2 separate regions of the Homo sapiens genome follow, and region 1 is linked to region 2. Evidence: promoter capture Hi-C in 16 types of primary human blood cells and fetal thymus (Javierre and others, 2016). All regions are on one chromosome and are shown on one strand. The core of a region is centred on a gene start or on the middle of the fragment in contact, and the rest is flanking DNA. Distances in the headings are between cores, read along the strand shown. Region 1 overlaps CRNKL1 (crooked neck pre-mRNA splicing factor 1). Region 2 holds the start of ESF1 (ESF1 nucleolar pre-rRNA processing protein).

Region 1 (3,571 bases), core at 297-2,796, 6.3 Mb before region 2:
CATGGCTGGAGGACTAACTGTACTAAGGTCCTGGCTGCCATTGCCAGTCCTGTTTTTCTAAGGTTTGTGTTGGTCATTACTACCTTACTGGAGTTCATCCAAGGTTTACTGTTTACTAGCTGTGTGGCTCCAGAGAGTCATTTAACTCCTTTGAGAGTTGGTGTCCTCTTCTTAAAAACAAGAATAAAAACACCTTTGTTGGGCTGTTGCGAAGATTAAATGATACACATGAAAGCACTTTTAGAAACTGAAGTACAGTCATTCCTCACTATTTGCAGATTCCATGTTTGCAAAATCACGTATTTGCTAAAATTTATTTGTAACCCCCAAAATCAGTAATTGTGGCACTTTCACAGTCATTTGTGGACATGCACAGAGCATGAAGTCCAACAAGGTGAGGCTTGCCTTCTGGTCTTAACCTCATATAACCATGCCTAGAGCTTGGAGACAGGAAGGGCCAGTGCCATGTAGTGCAAGGAGCTGTGGCTCTGGGGCCAGTCGGGGAGTTTGAATCCCTGTCAGTGGGGCAGCCTCAGTCCAGTCACTTAACATTTCTGAACCACTTTTCTTACAAAATAATGAAGATAGAATCTGCCAGGATGAGTTCTTTTTAGGATTTAAGATGATGATGAATGTGAGATTGTATATATACACGTTTCTCCTAGGAGCAGTGGTTCAGTACTCAATAATTAAGTGTTCGCATTGACTAAATAGAACATAACTACCAGAAATAATGAGAGTCAACTTTATTATGCAGTATTAAGATCTTTTTATTTTTTTACTCTTCTCTGTTGAGGTGACAATGTTAAGATCTTAATTATGTCTACTAATTTTAATATTATTAGTTTGACGAAAGCTTTTATAGCACTTGCTACGTGCCAGGCAGTATTCTAAGTACTTTACAGATATTGTTGTTTAATCCTCATAACATCCTTGCAGTGTAGGAACTTCTCTGTCCTACAGATGAGGGAGCTGAGGCATGAGAGATTAAGTAGCTTGACTGGGTTCTCACAGGTGCTGATGGAAATAGAATGTGAACCTAGTAGAGCAGCTTCAGAACTGATGCTCTTCTTTGCCATATTGGAATATATTACTACTTTGGAAATTAATGATTTATTCAAGGAAGATAGATTAAAATGACAATTCAAAACTTTCTGCTTTGACTCTAGTTAACAGTTTTCTTTTTATAGCATGTTTTTTTCTTAATTATTAGTTCAAGTATTCATATTTTAATATAATTGGTGCTATTTAATGACCAGACCATTATTGACCGCTTACGGTGCCATGTTCTTTTGGCTAGAAACTGTGCTAAGGGCTTTACATACATTTTCTCATTTAAAGCTGGCAGTAATCCAGTGAGGCTGGCATTATTTTTCCCTGTTTACAAATGAAACAGCTGAGACTTAGACGTCTAAGTTCAGTGACTTATCCAAGATCACATGGTTGGTAACCTGGGTTGAGATTTTTCTTTGCTTCCAACTCGAGTTTATACCCACCACTAAAATCTTAACTAAGCACTGGAGGAAAATAGAGATGAACAGGCGTGGCCCTGCTCTCACAGAAGCCACTGTTTAATTCTACACTTTTGTATGTGTTTTGTTCCCCTAGAGTTGTAGTTTGAATTTTTGGAGTTTCCAGGCTTTGGTATGGTTTTGGTGTTTACTTACTTACTATTTTTTTAAGCCATGCTGTTTTGCCTGGGATTTCCTTAATTCCCTTGCACTTGTCCTCGTGCACCCTGATGTTAAGAACTGGATCAAGTATGCCCGCTTTGAAGAAAAACATGCTTATTTTGCCCATGCACGGAAAGTGTATGAGAGAGCTGTGGAATTCTTTGGAGATGAACATATGGATGAGCACCTTTATGTTGCCTTTGCCAAGTTTGAAGAAAATCAGAAAGAGGTAAGTATACCTAACTTCATTATACTGTAAAACAGCTTAGCAAAGATTACATTTTGTGCATGGTGAGTTCATTTCCATTTTTTCTTACTGACATATCCCTGGAAAGATGTTTTCAAAATACAAAAACACAGCTTCTCACAGAGAACAGCATATATATGTGACTAAGCTACAGATGGGAGCTGATTATAGATTGTATTATAACTGTCTTAATTTTATTGTGCTTTGTTTGAAAATTAAGCCTTTTAGTCTGAATGCCCGTAAACTGAGAACTAGTCTTTTGGCATCCTAAGTAAAGGACTTAACCGATAATAAATATGGGAAACAAAAAGCTTAAAGCCCTAGAACAGAAAACATTTAGAATGGAAACAGAGATTGCCCTACAAATAAGAGAGTTCTTTTTTTCCCTTGTACCTATGAAAATAGCTCAAATATTGAGAAGATGAGGCAGAAGGATCACTTGAGGCCAGGAGTTTGAGACCAGCCTGGGCAACATAGTGAGACCCTGTCTCTAAAAAAAAAAATTGAGTGGGCATAGTGGTGCACACCTACAGTCCCAGCTACTTGGGAAGCTGAGGCAGGAGTATCACTTGAGCCTAGGAGTTTGAGACTACAATGAGCTATGTTCGTGCCATTGCACTCTAGCCTGGGTGACAGAGCAGGACCCCATTTCTTAAAAAAAAAGGGAGTTCAAATAATACAGAATTGAGATCCATCCAAATACAGGTTTGAGCATTCCCAGTCTGAAAATCCAAAACTCAAAATGTGAAACTTGTTGAGTGCTGACATGACACTCGAAGGAAATGTTCATTGGAACATTTCAGACTTCGGGTTTTTGGATTAGGGATGCTGAACCAGTAAGTATAATGCAAATATTCCCAAACTGGGGAAACATCCCAAATCCAAAACACTTCTGATACCAAATGCTTCAGACAAGAGATACTCAACCTATATAAGGTCTTGCACGGACCATGCTAGGGAGTTCAGATTCTGTTCGGGCCAGTGGGAAGCATTGAAAGGTTTTAAGCGGGACAGTGATTGGATATGATTTATATTTTAAGGAGAGCCTCTGGCTAATTCATGGAGAATGTATGAGGGTAGATGGCAAAAGTGGAACCAGGGGAGACCAGTGGGGAGACTTTTGAAGTGGGCCAGGTGAACAGTGGAGTTTGATGGCTGGGGGCTGGGGAGAAGCAAATGGCTGTGTGGAAGAGATTGAAATGGTAGGGCATGTTGCAAGAGTGAATATGGAGTATGAGGAAAAAAGAGGAATTGAGGATCACCTGAAGGTTTTGGCTTGAGCAAGTGACTGTAGGTTAGGCCTTGCCTACTAAAATTGGGAAGATGGGGAGAGTCCCAGTTTGAGTGGGGAGGAAACAGAAGCTCAGTTTTGGACCTGTTTGAGATGTGCAGTAGACATCCAGTTGGCAGTGTTAGGTAGACAGTATTAAATATGGAGCTCAAAGCAGAGTACCGGTCCATCCTGACAGAGATAACCTTCAACAAGAGGGAGAAAAGCATCTTACTCTGGATATTATGAGGCCTCAAAATCTAACTTATAAGTAATATTTTGTTATATTTACTCTCCTAGTTGTGACTGGCATGAGAATATTGTGTTATAGAAGGTAATCATCCTGTCTGCATTTAGTTTGAAAGGGTACGAGTGATTTAC
Region 2 (3,158 bases), core at 27-2,526:
TTGCATTATACTTGACTCCAACTTTGTTCCACTCCTGAATAAAAATTTACTGAGGCCTGAACTTGAGAATGCGTGTCCTGAAAGTAGAAACCCTCAGTCTCTGGCTCACCTGGGCAGGGAGAAAGGTTTCTCAAACGAGCCAAGACAAATCAGAAATCTTAATTTGATCTTCCTAAAACATAAGTCAGATCACTCCACTGATTAAAACAAGAGCTTCACATTCCCCTAGAGCAGTGCTGACCAAAAATCATGAGAGCCACATATGTAATTTCAAATTTTCTAGTAGCCACATAAGAAAAAAAGTAAAAACGAGAGAAATTTTAATTGAAAAATTTAAATTTATATTTAATATATTTCATGTGACCCAATATATCAAAAATAATCACTGCAACATGTAATCAATATAAAAGCTCTTAATGAGCTATTTTACATCCTTTTTTCATACTAAGTCACTATACTCGTGTGTATTTTACAACACATCTCAATTGGACTAGTCACCTTTCAAGTGTTCAACAGCCACATGTGTGGCCGGCAGTTACCATACTGGCTGGACAGTGCAGATACAGAAGAAAACCCCAAGTCCCTATCCTGCAAGGCCCTGATGATTTGGGTCCTCCTAACCTTCTCTCCCACTCTCTCCCTCTCCGGAGCTTCACTGGAGGCCTCTATAAGGTCCTTTCAGCCTCAAGGACGTTGCCGAAATGAATGCATGAATGAATGAAAGCATGTTACAAATATCCGAGGCCAGGCCTTGCGTGATTACAGTAGAGGCCGAAAGAGGCAGGGCTGCTGGTCAAGGTCAGACGGCTAGGTGGGGTGAGCTCGGGGCCTAGCCGGAACTAGCGGAGAGGAAAACAAGCCTCCGCGTCGCCCGCCCCGCCGCCCCGCCGCCCCGCGGGCTCACCTCCTCCTTCAGGTAGTCAAATTTGGTCGGCTCGGGCTGCCGGGCTGCCCAGTTCTTCTGTTTCCTTTTCAAATCCCGGTCGAAAATATTCAGGGTTCTGGGCGAGGTGCTACCGCGGGGAGAGACACCAGAGGTGACTTCCCTACGGCCAAGATTCTCCGCTGGGACCCTCGCCGCCCAAGGTCGCCGACATAAGCGCCAGAGCCCTGCCGGCCGCAGCATCTCCAGCTGCGACCCCAATTGCCGGCGCTTTTTGTGCGCATGCGCCAGCGCGGCTTTTGTGTCTACTCCAAAGATCTTCTCGAGGGAACGTGCAAGTAGTTTGGCCTAGTTCGCTTGCCATTACGGCGGAGCGTCACGCGGAGGATTGTGGGTGTGAGCCCCACGTGAGGCTTGGTAGGACTGCGGACGGTGAGTGGGGATGGACTGGAGTTGAAGAGCTCGAGATGAAGGGCTTGAGGGCGTGTGTGTGTGTGGCGCGGGGAAAAAACTAGTCTCTAACAGGATCTCTTTCGGATCTGCGAGGGGTTTTGCCCCTTCCTCCTGAGCCTTTTTCGGTCTCATTCTTCAGTCTTCATCGATCCTTTTCAGGGTCGCTTCTCGAATCAGTCTGTTAGCTGCCCCCCTGCGGTACAGGAGGTGGAAAGGAGACCCTAGTTCAGGGGCCAGCCCTGTGTTCTCCGAATTAGAGAGCGGGCAGAAGGGGAGGGTGGGCTACGGGGATGCGGGCGCGTGTCGGGAGTGAGGTCCGGTCGCCTTCCCCTCTCTCGGATTATCTGACATATAATGAGTGCTTTCCTTCTAAACATTTACAATACATGCAGTACTTCTCCTGGTTGAGGTGGTACCTACCTCGTAAGATTGCTCAGAGAGTTAAGTGCTGTAATACATCGAAAAATGTGTAAATGCACCAGCGATAGCTTCCTTTTTTTTCCTAGTTAGTGTAATTAAAAGGACTTGATTTTTAAATAAGAAATATTGCCCTTTTAATCATTTTGGGGGGGGGTTGCTTAATAATCAACGACTTTTGGCTCTTTGCAAAATTCCCATCCAGAGATGCTAAACCATTGGAGACTTTTCACAAGGGAACAATATTAATTTATACACACATATGTATATGTTCTAGTATGTTTTGGGGGAATGAGCTCACTTGGGCCTTCATCACTGGTAGAATCAGATATTATAGAAAGAAGTGATATTTATTAACTGGTGTGAGACTTTACCTGGAGACTCAAATTTACTTTTTATTTTTAAACTTTTTATTACTTTTGAAGGATGATCGAATTTAAAAAGGAAACTTTCTTAGCTAAACCTGAGTTGATTTTGGTCTGTTTAGTTAGAATGCTAGTCTTACAGAACTAAAGGCTGTTTGTTGGCAGTAGCCGGAGATAAGGAGTAAGCAGAATGAGACCAGAATGTGAAGAAACAAATGAGGCCAACGGAGGCTAGGGAATCTTTCTTTCTTACTTTTTTTTGGTAGACAGGGTCTCACTCTGTTGCCCCAGCTGGTGTGCTGTAGTGCCGTTAGGCTCACTCTAGCCAAGACCTCCCGGGTGGAAGTGATCCTCTTGCCTTAGCCTCCAAAGTAGCTGGGACTACAGGCGCGCGCCACCATGCCGGGCTCATTTTTGTATTTCTTGTGGGGATTCACCATGTTACCCAGGCTGGTCCTGAACTCCTGGGCTCAAGTGATCCGCCCGCCTTGGCCTCCGAAAGTGCTGGTGAGCCACCGCACTCGGCCTAGGGAATCTTAACTACATTTGCCTTCAATTAGTAACACATACTGGTATACAAATAGAAATTCTAAGTGAGAGCAATGGATGAATAAACATTTGTTCCCCTCCATAAAGCCCTGGGATTCTGCTTTGTCTACCTTAAGTTTATTTCTCTAAATGATCTGTCATGGAAAGAGGATATTTTGGTATGTTTCTGCTTTTTTGCATGTGACCCAGAATACGTTGGAGAGATGAAATTAGACTTGTTACCTCTATTTTATGTACACTTAACTTAGAATATATTAACTTAGAATATATTGTGAATGTGTTTTAAAACATTTAATTATTGTACTAACCATTATTACCATTAAAACATTTGTTTTATTTTTCAGTATTTGTTTTCTTCAAGCATTTGGTCGAGATTAAGAATTAAAAATGTCATCCAAACAAGAAATAATGAGTGACCAGCGGTTTAGACGGGTTGCAAAGGACCCGAGATTTTGGGAAATGCCAGAAAAGGATCGAAAAGTCAAAATTGA

What was found. Contacts are between HindIII fragments. The CHiCAGO score rates a contact against its expected background, and 5 or more counts as called.
Region 1: a fragment that was not itself captured here is called in contact with the fragment with the promoter of ESF1 in region 2 in 1 of 17 cell types (total CD4 T cells); the score reaches 8.2 in total CD4 T cells.

What each region holds. Positions count from the first base shown.
Region 1 is chr20:20,043,639-20,047,209 of GRCh38, reverse strand. It overlaps CRNKL1 (crooked neck pre-mRNA splicing factor 1), which reads left to right. Exons shown (of 14, transcript NM_001278628.2): 6 at 1,724-1,902; 7 at 3,548-3,571. Among named protein-coding and RNA genes, the nearest start is that of CRNKL1, 7.0 kb to the left of the region's middle. The HindIII fragment of the contact is 1,375 bases long and covers 859-2,233 here.
Region 2 is chr20:13,783,037-13,786,194 of GRCh38, reverse strand. ESF1 (ESF1 nucleolar pre-rRNA processing protein) reads left to right here and starts at 1,276. Exons shown (of 14, transcript NM_001276380.2): 1 at 1,276-1,315; 2 at 3,012-3,158. The coding sequence starts at 3,055. NDUFAF5 (NADH:ubiquinone oxidoreductase complex assembly factor 5) reads right to left here and starts at 1,167. Exons shown (of 11, transcript NM_024120.5): 1 at 905-1,167. The coding sequence starts at 1,126. RefSeq lists enhancers at 257-946, 942-1,231. The HindIII fragment of the contact is 9,427 bases long and covers 1-3,158 here.